Linked DNA regions of Homo sapiens: regions 1, 2 and 4 are each linked to region 3. The links are contacts of gene promoters, found by promoter capture Hi-C in blood cells and fetal thymus (Javierre and others, 2016). All regions are on one chromosome and are shown on one strand. The core of a region is centred on a gene start or on the middle of the fragment in contact, and the rest is flanking DNA. Distances in the headings are between cores, read along the strand shown. Region 1 holds the start of TXLNB (taxilin beta). Region 2 has its middle 7.2 kb from the start of CITED2. Region 3 holds the start of VTA1 (vesicle trafficking 1). Region 4 overlaps UTRN (utrophin).

What was found. Contacts are between HindIII fragments. The CHiCAGO score rates a contact against its expected background, and 5 or more counts as called.
Region 1: a contact is called between the fragment with the promoter of TXLNB here and the fragment with the promoter of VTA1 in region 3, in 6 of 17 cell types (total B cells, naive B cells, non-activated CD4 T cells and 3 more). The highest score is 11.6, in total B cells.
Region 2: a contact is called between a fragment that was not itself captured here and the fragment with the promoter of VTA1 in region 3, in 2 of 17 cell types (total B cells and fetal thymus). The highest score is 6.7, in total B cells.
Region 4: a contact is called between a fragment that was not itself captured here and the fragment with the promoter of VTA1 in region 3, in 1 of 17 cell types (activated CD4 T cells). The highest score is 6.1, in activated CD4 T cells.

The regions. Positions count from the first base shown.
Region 1 is chr6:139,290,451-139,293,856 of GRCh38, forward strand. TXLNB (taxilin beta) reads right to left here and starts at 1,548. Exons shown (of 10, transcript NM_153235.4): 1 at 1,471-1,548. The region is part of intron 4 of LOC102723690 (a long non-coding RNA gene); the gene reads left to right. RefSeq lists enhancers at 263-322, 523-772 and a silencer at 382-676. The HindIII fragment of the contact is 5,007 bases long and covers 1-1,748 here.
Region 2 is chr6:139,365,960-139,369,022 of GRCh38, forward strand. No RefSeq gene overlaps it. Among named protein-coding and RNA genes, the nearest start is that of CITED2, 7.2 kb to the right of the region's middle. RefSeq lists an enhancer at 2,860-3,063. The HindIII fragment of the contact is 4,905 bases long and covers 1-3,063 here.
Region 3 is chr6:142,145,663-142,149,031 of GRCh38, forward strand. VTA1 (vesicle trafficking 1) reads left to right here and starts at 1,601. Exons shown (of 8, transcript NM_016485.5): 1 at 1,601-1,737. The coding sequence starts at 1,626. NMBR (neuromedin B receptor) reads right to left here and starts at 1,460. Exons shown (of 4, transcript NM_002511.4): 1 at 1,382-1,460. RefSeq lists enhancers at 1,330-1,624, 1,388-1,527, 1,782-2,302. The HindIII fragment of the contact is 1,973 bases long and covers 1,030-3,002 here.
Region 4 is chr6:144,344,227-144,347,588 of GRCh38, forward strand. All of the region lies in intron 2 of UTRN (utrophin), which reads left to right. Among named protein-coding and RNA genes, the nearest start is that of SNORA98, 60 kb to the right of the region's middle. RefSeq lists enhancers at 808-1,308, 1,309-1,809. The HindIII fragment of the contact is 2,604 bases long and covers 176-2,779 here.

The sequences.
Region 1 (3,406 bases), core at 298-2,797, 2.9 Mb before region 3:
ATTCCAATATATAAACCAATTTTTTAAAAGAGAAAAACAGATTACAACTTTCTCTTCTAAGTCAGGAAGCTCTAGAAAAACTTAATGATTTTTAAGAAGTAGCAATGTTTCATAAACAAGGAGGAGACCAACTCGAGAAATAATTCAGCAATAATAAGGGCCCTTAGGAAAGGGTGAGAGATGGTACTGAGTCAGAGATTCCAGGGTTTCTGACTATTACCACTTCTAGAGTTGCAATAGATTTGGTTTAGGCCTTTAAGTTATGGTGCATTTTATTTGTAAATAATATTTAACAGTGATGCTGCTAAATAGCAGCATAAAAATGTGGCAAGATCCTCATAATTCACAGGTTTTGCTGTTGTGGTAACATGAAAGTGAAAACAAAAGCATACTGTTCTACAACTGCACAGCTTCCTTTTCCTGTTCTCAGGGCAGTAGATGTCAATTGAATGCTCAGACACCAACAAGAACAGAAAATTCAACACACAGATGTTGCCACTGACTTGTGATGCTCACCAAACACTCATAACTTAGAGGAAGTACTTTTTTTCTTTCACTGGTTTGAATTCACCAACTTGATTATCAAATAATGCAGCAGTTTCATTATTTTCATCACTGGGATTTCTTTTCCTGACCTCACTTGTTGATTGCACTCATCTATATATAACTTAGGCCTCCCCTGAACACGGAGAAAGACACACGGCACCTGCTGTCCAGCCAGAAGTTATTTTAAGCTATTCTAAAATGAGTCATGCCGTTTAGCACTTCATCCTTGAAAATCAAGAGAATCGTTTTTCAGTCAAATTGAAAACAGTAAACATTTAGTGGCTTAAATCCATACATGGGTTTTAAAGTCGGGGAGACTATCTTAGGATGAAATAAAATCTCAAGTAAAATGAACTTCAAAATAATTAATTTAAGATAAGCTGTCCATAGGAGTTTTACTTCGGTTAGTCTAAATGCAAGTGGCTGTTTGTATTTGATTTATTCTTCATGAGATGCCACAATCATTGATTTTTTAAATTCTTAATTCCATGGCTATTCTTTAAACTCCTGTTCCACATTTACTTTAAAACAGAACAGTCATTATAAAGCCCAGGACAATTCAATTCCCAAAAGTAGCCTCAAGACAAGTTAACAAGAGGGAAAAAAACAAAGTCAGAGAACTTTGTTACTTTTCAATCATCCATTTTATATTATGTGGCAAAGAAATTATTTCTAACTTTTATCTTATATAAACTTTATTGCCTTATTTTCCCCTCCCCAGGGAGAGAACTTTTCACTTGTGTTGGCTATTCCAGATGACTATCACAGACACATCCCTCCCTAAGCAACACATTTTATTTATAAATACAACAATGAAAAGTTCTCCAACAGTTCACTGGCAATCTCAAAGTTGCAAGTTTCGAACACCACAAACCGCACCCTATACCTTCTCACAGGGCTTGGGGGAGTGTTTGTCATACTTACCAGAAGGCAAGAAGCTAAGCAAGAAGAGAGAGGAGAGGAAGGAGGCAGGAAAAAGCAAGTCAGAGCTGCAGCAACAGCAGGAGAGGGCGGGCTGGCTGTGTTCTTACAAGGGAGAGAGAAACCCAATACACACACACACACATACACACGTGCACGCACGCGCGCGCACACACACACACACACACACACGCCACAGGCACTGATGGAGGCAGCAGTCTGGAGGAGGTGGGGGTAGGGAAAGGAACATCATATGACACAGCAAGGGGAAAATACACCCAAGCTTCCCTAGCTGTTGCCAGGGGAAATACCTTAGCAGAGAGAAGCAGCTGGAAGATCTCATTAGACTCTCCATGTTTTGTTTGTCCTTTCGGAAATTTAAACTCTGAGTATATTACCCCCGTTGCAAATGCAGTCTTTCACCATTGTTGTCCTTTTTGGGTAGAGATCAGTTTTTCTTACTTCTTGGGTTATCTCCAGTGTGGTGGAAGATTCATCTTCTTTTTCTTCTTCTTCTTGCACTAGCTTAATTAGTGTCAGGTTTCTTACAGGAATCATGGAAAAAGAAAAACAATGGCATAAGAACAGGGAGGTGGTGGAACCATTTTAATTCTGATGTCATTGTTTGGTTTGTTTGCAAAGTTTGAAATAAACATGTAGATGGTGATTTTGGAGCTGAACTGAGTATAATCTTCATGCACGTGGTAATTGGTGTGACCTTGGAGCACAGTCTTTCCCAGGTAACTCTTCCCATCTCAAACAAACCCTCAGGGAAGCAGTCTGCTTTTTCTTCCTTAGTTGGTGGCTTTCCCACATTTTGTAAATCCTCAACATGCTCCTTGATCCTCCTCAGAAAAAGAAATTCCTTCTGATTCACCATAAAATGCCTGTCTATTAATTTACATCCATTTGCCTTTTATTTTTCTTTCTGGAGCTTGTGTTCCCATACTTCCAAAGCAGATTCCTCCATCGGTTTCTGCTCTGGGGACAGGCTAGGCATAGTGGCATCCCTTGTGGGAGGCAGAATAATGCCACCCAAAAGATCTCCACGTCCTACTCCCTGGAACCTGTGAATATGTTTCTTTACATGACAAAAGAGACTTTGCAGATGTGAGGAAGGATCCTGAGGTAGGGAGGTTATCTTGAACTACTGGGTGGGTTCAATGTAATCATAAGGGTATTTATTTATTTATTTATTGAGACAGAGTCTCGCTCTGTCACTCAGGCTGGAGTGCAGTGGTGCAATCTCAGCTCACTGCAACCTCCCGGGTTCAAGCGATTCTCCTCCCTCAGCCTCCCAAGTAGCTGGGATTACAGGCGCCTGCCACCACATCCAGCTAATTTTTGTATTTTTAGTAGAGACGGGGTTTCGCTGTGTTGGCTAGGCTGGTCTCGAACTCCTGACCTCATGATCCGCCCACCTCGGCCTCCCAAAGTGCTGGGATTATAAGCGTGAGCCATTGCACTCAGCCTCATAAGGGTCTTTATAAATGAGGGAGGAAGGCAGTAGGATTGGAGGCAGAAAAGGAGATTTGATGACCTCAGCATAGGTCAGGAAGCTTCTAGAAGCTGGGAAAGGCAAGGAAACAGATTATACTCTAGAGCCTCCAGAGGGATGCAATCCTGCGACATTGATCTTAGATCAAAGAAATTCGTTTTGGATTTCCGACCTCCAGAAATATAAAATAGCAAACTTATGTTATTTTTAAGCTGCTAAATTTGTGATAAGATGTTATGGCAACAAAAGGAAATGAAAACATCCCACCCCCAGTTTTGTCCTACTTATTCTCTGAGTTTAGGGGAGGCATAAGTTATATATAGATGAGTGCACCCAACAAGCAGAAGTCAGGATAAAGAAATTCCAGTGTTGAAGACAATGAAGCTGTTCACTATATTATTTGATAATTAAGTTAGTGAATTAAAATTGATGAAAGAGAAA
Region 2 (3,063 bases), core at 458-2,957, 2.8 Mb before region 3:
TTAATTTCTGAAAGAAACTGTTTATTTCCAGCAAGAAGGAATTCAGTTAAGGAAAAAAAAACTGAAACCGCAATTTAAATCACTGATATTCTTTCATTTGACTTGAAGTGCTAACGAGGTCAAAATATTAAGAAGGGGTAAGCAGCTCACCATGAGGCTACTCATGCACTTTCAGGGGTCACACTTAATTTGGAGGAATTTTTATACCAAATTTGAAAAAGCGTAGACCCGAATCTTGTGAATCCCAAAAGGAAACGGTGTGTGATTGTACGGATAAATACATGGTATAGTTGTGTTCATATATTTTAGAACTTGTGTTCATGTAATGTAATGGGTTTTTCTCTTAATCACTTATTGATCATTTTACAATCAGTGGCATTTAAGAATAGGTGTCATTTGGTTTATCACAGCAGCACTGCGTCTTAGAAAGAGCACTGACTCGGAAGCTAGGTCTGGAAACTACTCTGCTCCTCTATCCGCTACTGTGTTGTCCTTGAGCAGTTGACTTCCTCTCTAAATGTCAATTTCCTTATGTAAATTTGGAAGAATATCATGAATCTTGCAAGCATATTGTGAGCATTAAATGAGATTATGTATGTAAAGTGCCTACCACAATATCTGTCACATAGTAAGTGCTCAACCAAGGCAGCCACAGGAAACTTATGGTCAACAGAGAGATTTGTTAAGAGATGTTGATTGAAGGGTAAATTTCTTCGATTTGATCCCATGCAGTCTAAACAGTGTTTCTTACCATTTAAAAATCTATGCCCTATCAGTCAAGAAGATTTTGAGGCCAGGCGCAGTGGCTCACGCTGTAATCCCAGCACTTTGGGAGGCCGAGGTGAGTGGATCACGCGGTCAAGAGATTGCGATCATCCTGGCCAACAAATACAAAAAAACTAGTTGTGCATGGTGGTGCGTGCCTGTAGTCCCAGCTACTCAGGAGGCTGAGGCAGGAGAATCGCTTGAACCCAGTAGGTGGAGGTTGCAGTGAGCTGAGATTGCGCCACTGCACTCCAGCCTGGCAACAGAGCAAGACTCTGTCTCAAACAAAATAAATAAAAAAATAATAAGAGTTTGAAATGTCTTTCTACATTTTGTTTTACTAAAAGAATGTGTATTAAAACATCTGTCCAAATATAGTATGGAATATGTTTTTATAAGTTACTGTTTTCTCTCCCTTCTCCCCAGCCTGAGAGGTACCTCTACCCAGCTGAGAACTATTGATCCAAAAAATGGTGTCAGAAGGGGATCTTAGAAACATTTAGATATTTAAGTTCATATTAGGAACATAACAGTCAGTTCAATCATTTTTCACCTACTGGCCTCATCGTCCTTATGTTTGCTAAACACATAGGGTGAAGAGAGATGTATGAAACTGGTCATCATCTTGCTTATCCTCCTTTCAAGAGTTATCCAAAATACATGCAACGGGGCCATATTTACAAGGTGATCTAAGAATGTGTATGCACAATTGAAGTATACTATATGTGCTTTAAGGAGATAGCAACTGTCATGAAGCAAAAAACCCAACGGAACCCAAACCAAACCCCAAACCCAGTGGGTTACGAGAATAAACCACCACCACTAACAACAATAAAATTCTGTGGCCTAGTGACTAAGGAAATCACAAGGCCAAATGTTATACCAATCCATAGGAAAACCCAAAGAGAAAAGACCTCAATAGCCTCCAATCCCATTTCCTTCACTGTAGCATGTGTTCATAAAAACAGTACTGACAATCTGGAGTTGGCTGACTTTTCCTGATTTTGTGCTAGTTTGACTTGCACTCAAGCCTTAATTTTGCTCCCCACTCAGCTTTCAGGAATGGACAGGCAGAATTCTTTGGGCACTATTAACTTTTCAAAAGCCACTCGCCTATTTGCATATCTCCTGCAATGCGCACCACGCTAACCTTGCCTTGCTACAGGCTCCTCAGGAGACAGATTCCCCTGTCGGCTTTGTTCAGCAACCCAAAATGTAATCAAGTAACCACTCTACTGTAGAGGGAAGAAAGGGAGGGATTTCAGGGCTGAGCACAATGGTGATACCATGGGAAAATTCCAAGAATTCCGTGAACCACAGTCCTCACCCCTGGTTGTGCCCCTGCCTCACTAATCTTTCAGATTAGTTCAGCCTAATGAAAACTAATAACATATAAAGCAAGTAATAATATTCACCGTCCATCTTTCTTTCATGTGCTTTTTGCTCACTCTGCAAGTCCTGATTTAGCCAAGCTGAATTCTCAAAAAGCACCACTAACTGCCTCCTGGGGCTGCTTCATTTAGTGCTCCTCTAGGGGAAGGAAGTAACTGATAAGAATCCAGCCGCTAAAAAGTCATTATTTGTTCATAGACAGTATGGAAGAGGTCGGTCTGATAGTTTCTCTTTCCCAAGGATCATGGATTCAGTTCCTCAACACAACAGACTCTTACTTATCATAGCTTTTCTTTCATTGTGTATAAATATCAAAATATGATAGAAATTCACGCCAGCCGCTCTTAGAATATTTTCTCACTCTTTAGCATTACTGCATTACTTATGAGTTTAATTTCTTCCTGGGAAGGGAAGAAGTTCTTTATTTCAGATGTTTTAATATTTTTTTAAAATATAGGTAGGTCTCACTACAAGGCAAACTAAAATTATCAGCAGTATGTTATTTGATGGAAAATATTCTTATATTTCCTTTTCCAGTTTAAATTAAAAGTATGGCTACCAGGAAAAAAAAAGAATCATTTTTCTCCTTGCTGCATAAAAATAGGTCAAGTAATTTAAGCCAGTCCATTGCAATTAAAATTCTGACATTGCCATTGTTCCTTCTATTCTAGGGGGAGAAGACAAACAGAGCCCATGATAATAGGGGTTCACTGGCTGAGTCATTTGATGTGCTACCTATTGTTCTCTTCTGGAGGCTCAGCCTCAACCTGCCTGGGAGCGCTGATTTTGATGATAGTGGTGCAGTCCCAAAATGATAAATACCATCTCTGAAGCATGCATTTCTGAAGAGGTGTACTGCTGCTTTCATGCTAGCAAAACATTTCCACTGCAGAGGAAAAAATTGCC
Region 3 (3,369 bases), core at 351-2,850:
CTTAATCTCAATAGCAGGAAATGCTGTTGTAGACCAAGGAAATTGGGGCTGAGTGCCTAGCTTGAATAGAGCGAGAGAAGTTTGAAACACCATCTGTGGACTACAGCACTGGTCCTTAACCCTAGACGTAACATTAAAATTACATGAGGACCTTTTAAAGATACTGACATTTAGGATCCCACCTAGAACAATTAAGTGAGAATGCCTGGAGTGGGCTTTAAAGTTGATCTTTAAGGGCAGCTGCGGTTGAGAATCAAGAAGTAATAGGAAACAAATAAATGAAAAGTTGTGAGTATAGAAAGAAAACAGTTATGGTTATCCAACTCTGCTTTTCTTCATTGATTTCTCTACCAATCTAGCAACTTTTGACTGGAAAGTCCAAATAGTGGGAGTAAGAGAAAGAGAAAGAAACCATACATTCTCCAGTGGTAGGAAATATGCCGCTGAGATTGGGGAAGAAGACAGAACTGAGTTTCAGGCTGAGTAAAAAAGCCCGACCCAGAATAAGATGATGGACTTTGCAAATAGGTCTAGGCAACGTATGTGGAGTGGGATAATATGAGGACATGGAGCGGTTTCTTCTGGGGGTGAGAGAGTGATCAGAAAATAGTAGGCAGAGGGGAATTTCCGAGCTGGAGATTTTGGCTCTTGGGGATAGTGTGATTTCAGTGAAAACTAGTTTTAAGATGAATTGTCAAAACTGAGGACTGAGATAAAATAAAGAAGGTTATTGGAGGAAGTAAATAAAGTGTACAGTCCTGAAAGATATAAGTAAGGGATGGAGAGGAGAGGAAGAGAATTGAAGTCATTGAGGGTAGAAGGAAAAGTGATGCCTACTGTACAATGGTTAAGAGTTACCAGCGTTGAAAACGTCCCAAACACCCTATCTTACATTAAGACAAGATAATAAATATGAAAATACTTTACAAATTGTTAATCACTCTCCAGAAAAAAAAAAGGTGATCTACAGATTATTCATTCACTAAAATACGTACTAGCCAGCTGAGAACAAAAGTTCAATCTTCTTTAAGCTTCATATGTTTAGCTTAATTTGGCGCGAAATCTGATTATTTTATCCAGTATGTCAACATAGAAAAATTTAATTTACAATTTAAACACATTATTTCTCTCTCATGCAAGTATTGAAATTAAAGTTTCTAAAATCAAAAAGGCTTCTAAAGGACACTGCTATATGGAATATTAATGTGGCATATTAACTGGAAGTGGTAATTCCTGAATGACGCCAAAGGCAATTCTCGCCTTTATACTTTCTCCCAGTCAACATACATTATTTTCTTGTTTTTCCTTTTCTATCCTTCCTTTTGCCACAAACAACAAACCAAACAAAAAAGCAAAACAAAACAAAAACCCTTCCTCCTACCAGCAGAGAGCGCTAGCGCCATGCGCGGCATAAGCGCCAAAATGCTCGGGTCTTCTGTGGGTTCTAACCGCCGAGAGCCAAGCACCCTGAGGTTGTCCCAGCTGGGGATCCGTAGTTGACTTGACGTCGCTGAGCAACGGAAGAGTGGGCAGCATTTGCTCTGAACGCTCGTGCGCGCTACCGCCCAGACGGAAGCGGAAGTGCCGGTGGAGCGCGAGTAGGAAGTGGTGAGTTCGGAGTAGAGATGGCCGCGCTTGCACCGCTGCCCCCGCTCCCCGCACAGTTCAAGAGCATACAGCATCATCTGAGGACGGCTCAGGAGCATGACAAGCGAGACCCTGTGGTGGCTTATTACTGTGAGTCTTTCCGAGTGGCCGCGCCCTTTCTTTCCCAGTTGCATTTTAGGGCCCACACACCTCCCTGAGGTTCTTGGGGCATGCCCCGCCCCCCTCGCTTTAAACCTGAGCTTTGACCTCGAGCCTACCCAGGGAACTCCCTGGGTTCCCACCCCCTGGCAGTAGGAATCCCAAAACACCATGGTGTCCACTGCTTCTCCTATCTTGTGCTTAAATGCTCCAGTACTGACTACACAGGCTCTTGAACTGTGGAATATAATCTTCCAAGGTTTTCTCTGTGTGTGTACACACAAGAGCTTCTTGTCTCAAATAGGAATCCTGAAAATAAATTGAGTTAGGTTTAAAACGAAGGTGAGTGTCCGAAAGAAGGAGTGATGTGGATAAAAGGACGATAGACTAGTTGAAAACATAGTAATAAGTGAATATTATTTATGACAGCATGCAAGCCCAATCAGAAACTCATTTGGTTAAATGGGGAGTATCTGCTACTAAATAAGCAGTTGAATTTGACCTTTCCCCACCCAGCTGCTCTCTCCTACCATGCAGAATTTTTAGTTTTGACTTCTTTGAATAATACCCGCTGTTGAGACCTTTGAAAGCAGTATTTTCACTTTGAGTGTTATACGTTGAATTTACAGTTTGATTAAAAAAAATATAGGTTAACTCTGCTCAAACTTGTAGTGAGTAAAGGGAGTGCCAGTAATTCTGTGTTAACTTTATTTTGTATTCTGTACTCTTAACTTTACTGCAAATAAAACAAGTAACTGGACAATTATAATTCTGAAAAGGATATTTAGAGTTGAGAAGTTGGATATAATGCGTCCATTGTTGTGTATATTGTAAGGTTAGCTAAAATCTGGTCACTGTTATCTCTGCCATACTCCAAATGTACCCTGTTTCTCAAATGTGCAAGGCCTTTTCAGACCTACCATCTTCCACTCTCTTGGAATGTGCACCTTTTTCTTGCACTTGGCAAACTCATGATTCAAGATCTAACCCAAATGTCACCACTTCTGTGGGCAGCAAATTGATTATTCTCTGTGCATTACTTCATTTTGTTCAAATTTTACAGCATCATTTTTATTATACTTGTTCTTCAGTTTCCTCAAGCAGGGTCCATATTCATTCAGTATGTGTTCATTGAGCTACCTTTGTATCAAGCATTAGTAGGCGCTGTGACTACATTTGCTGCATTTTTGGAGCTTACATACAATGGAGGTAGAGAGTTTCAACAATATAGAGTCTATCATACATAGAGTATTAAAAGCTTATGAAGACAAATAGAGCAAGGAAAAGGAATAAGAGTATCAGGAGTAGTGGTGGCAGGGAGTGCAGATGGGATTTCAGTTTCATAGTGGTCAGGAACACTTCACTGAATTGACATTTGGGGAAATAAAAGAGTGAAAGGCATACCTTGCACCATCTGGGAAAGAGTATTCTCCATAGAGGTTATAAAAGTCCCGAAGTAGAGGCTTGCTGGAAGGAGGAGTAAGTAGACTATTGTGACTGGAGTGGATGGGGCTTGGGAGTGATGGGATAAGGTCAAAGAATCTCTCATCCCTAAAGGAAATTCCTGTTCCCGATCCCTGTATCATGTATCTTTGTGACAAACCAGGGACACCTTACTCACTG
Region 4 (3,362 bases), core at 228-2,727, 2.2 Mb after region 3:
CCACCACGTTTCATTGGAAAAAGTGCAGATTGGATTTGCCAGGGCATGTAGCTCTCCAGGCTTGCAAGCGATTACCAGGTAAGTTTGTCAACTTGCACGACTCCCAGCCAGTGAGGTTTTCTTAAGAAACGTCTATGAAGACAGGGTTCTTTCATTCAGTTTTGTTAAGTAACAAAGCTTAGGACCAGGCTGGTGACGGGAACAGACAGCCTGTCTTTCCTGCTGCCACGTCTGTTGTGGACCCTCAAGAGTAGAGACCAACGCTGTCTGCTTCACACTTCTCTTCAGGAAGTGATAATTCACCAGAGTTATTAGTTTCTTTGGAAGAAGCCTTCCAGGATCCCTATATTTGTGGTAGCAAATATGCTTCACTTTACCTCCCTGTATTTTCAAAATAGCTTACTCTGTGCTGTTTACTGCCATCTAGAGAAGAAGCCTCCTTTGTGGTGTTGAGTATTGGTAGACCTCATCCCATATTGTATTTGATTTACTCTGTTGGCTAAAAAGGCATTTTACTTCTTGAAATATTTAGTTTTGACCTGAGAAAGGGGAGAATAAAACGTTTGTACTTTGGGGGACAGTATGAGTGCTGGGGTTTCTGTTTCAGTGCAGGCTTGTCTATGAGACATGCATATGCATAACTTCATGCAGGGAAAGTGTCGTGCACTTTTCTCTCGCTGAAGTTTACTTCCGGGGTGACTTAGTTTTTCTGATCAGTTTAGATGTTCATATCTTGTTTAATGTATACATGTGTGTACTGGTTGTATGAGCTTTTGGAGGGGAAAAACCCCAAGTGATGTGTTTTATTCGATCATACATATCATGCATGAATGTTGTCACTATGAAAAAACTTTGAGACTGGTTGGTTTTCTTTTTCAATGTTTTCCTTTCTTGTGGAATTACTCTTTCCCTCTTAATGTTTTCCTTCTTAGCTTCAGTGAATGAGGTGGTAAGGGGTTGTAGCGTTGTCTCTGCAGAGCAAATTCAAACCAAAATGATTGGAGCAGCCCATATTTTCTTAGTGAATTGGGTTTCTTGAACAAGTGGCATAGGAGACTGGTGTGCTACAATTCTCATCATTAACTGTTACTTCTTTCTTAAATAACCATGTGATCCCAACACAACATCAAAATACCTCTCAGGGACCTGAATTAAAACTCCACGCGGGCCAGGCACAATGGCTCATACCTGTAATCCAAGCACTTTGGGAGGCTGCGGCATGAGGATCACTTGAGGCCTGGAGTTCGAGACCACTCTGGGCAACACAGGGAGATTCCATCTCTACAAAAAATTTAAAAATCAGCCAGGCATGGTGGCATGTGCCTGTGGTCCCAGCTACTTAGGAGACTGAGGTGGGAGGATAGCTTGAACCTAGGAGTTTGAGACTAGTGAGCCACGATCATGCCGCTGCATTCCAGTTTGGACAACAGAGGGATACCTTGTCTCAAAAACCTGCATAGGGGCAGCAATTGCAGGCTTGTGGCCTTTCGAAGATTTCCTTTGATTGTCACTAAATCCTCTCTCTTTCCCCACCATTAAGAGTCTCTGTGGTCAGCTAGTCTTCATCAAAGGGTCTTGCTACAAAGGGTCTAGGGTAACCTTAATGATTGAAATCAGAAGACAGCTAGAAGAAAAGTACAAACAAACCTTTAAATAATAAGCAGGCTTTGGCCGGGGGCGGTGGCTCACGCCTGTAATCCCAGCACTTTAGGAGGCCAAGGCAGGCGGATCACCTGAGGTCAGGAGTTCTAGACCAGCCTGGCCAACATGGTAAAACCTTGTCTCTACTAAAAATACAAAAATTAGTCGGGCGTGGTGGCACGTGCCTGTAATCCCAGCTACTTGGGAGGCTGAGGCAGGAGAATCACTTGAACCTGGGAGGTGGAGGTTGCAGTGAGCCAAGATCACACCATTGCACTCCAGCCTGGGTGAAAGAGCAAAACTCTGTCTCAAAAAAAAAAAAAATAAAATAAAAAAGCAGGCTTTTAAATGAGTAGCTACAGTGTTAAATATATTTAAATGCTGTGCTGGTTGAGTTCTGGTTCATTTAGATAACATTCTTTCCTGCCCTATGACCAATCAAAAGGCTTTAGGAAAATAGCATTTTTAAAATTAAAATGTATTTCAGTGCATGTTATTTTAATAAAAATAGAAAACCAATGTGTACATGATTTCCAATTTCACAAGGGCCTAGATTCTCCTCTCATCAGTTGCTATTGAACTGATTTTTTTGTGTGTGTCCATAGTGTAGGCTCTTTAGTCATCTTGTTAGAAATAAGGACATTAAATTTAATGTTAAAAATAATATTTTCAGCCAGGCACAATGGCTCATGCTTGTAATCCCAGCACTTTGGGAGCCCGAGGCGGGCAGATCACCTGAGGTCAGGAGTTCAGGCCAGGAGCCTGGCCAATGTGGTGAAACATCGTCTCTACTAAAAATACAAAAATTAGCTGGGTGTGGTGGTGGGTGCCTGAAATCCCAGCTACTTGGGAGGCTGAGGCAAGAGAATCGCTTGAACCCGGGAGGCGGGGGTTGCAGTGAGCTGAGATTGCGCCACTGCACTTCAGCCCGGGCATCAGGGCGAGACTCTGTTTAAAAAAAAAATAGATCTCTATCTCTATCACTATCTCTCTGTCTATCTATGTATCATCTATCTATCTATCTATCTATCTATCTATCATCTATCTATCTATCGATCTCTATCTTTATCCAGCTGTATCATCATTTTCACTAGATGCTAACAATAATATAACTGAGATAAACCAAAGTTTCAAAACAAGCTTGAAAATGTGAAATGAATAATTTGGAGGCGGGACTGGCCATTTAGGCATCTATGAAGGCCCAGATGACTCATGTCTGGAAATTGCCACTGCTCAGGAAACCACTCCTGGGAGCCCTGCTCGTTTTGCCATCCTTCCTGCTTTCTTGCCTGCTGACAGGACTCTATGTCAGCTGTTTCCTTTTTAGATGGAAGGGTTAAAAGATTCACTACTTGGGTCCCCCATTAGAATCACCAACATGCTTGTGCCCCACAGTCAGAGATCGTGACTTGATTGGACTGAGGCCCTGCTCTGTAGCTTGTCAAAAGCCAGCCAAGGGTGTCCAATGTGGAGGGTACAGGGGAATGTATTCGTCCCCCACTAGACTGAAAGCTCCATGGGAGGGAGTAGAGGCAGCTTTGTTACTGCTGCCTCCTAGCACCTGAATGTGTGCCTGATGTGCAGAAGAGGCTCAGTAGCTGCTTGTGGAATGAATGAATGAATTAGTTCCTTTGAGTAACAGGAAGTTGGAAGAAGATTGGACAGAGGCTTAGTTATGGTCTTTGCTGATGTAGGAGAGTGTGCTATGTTAGGCTGAACAG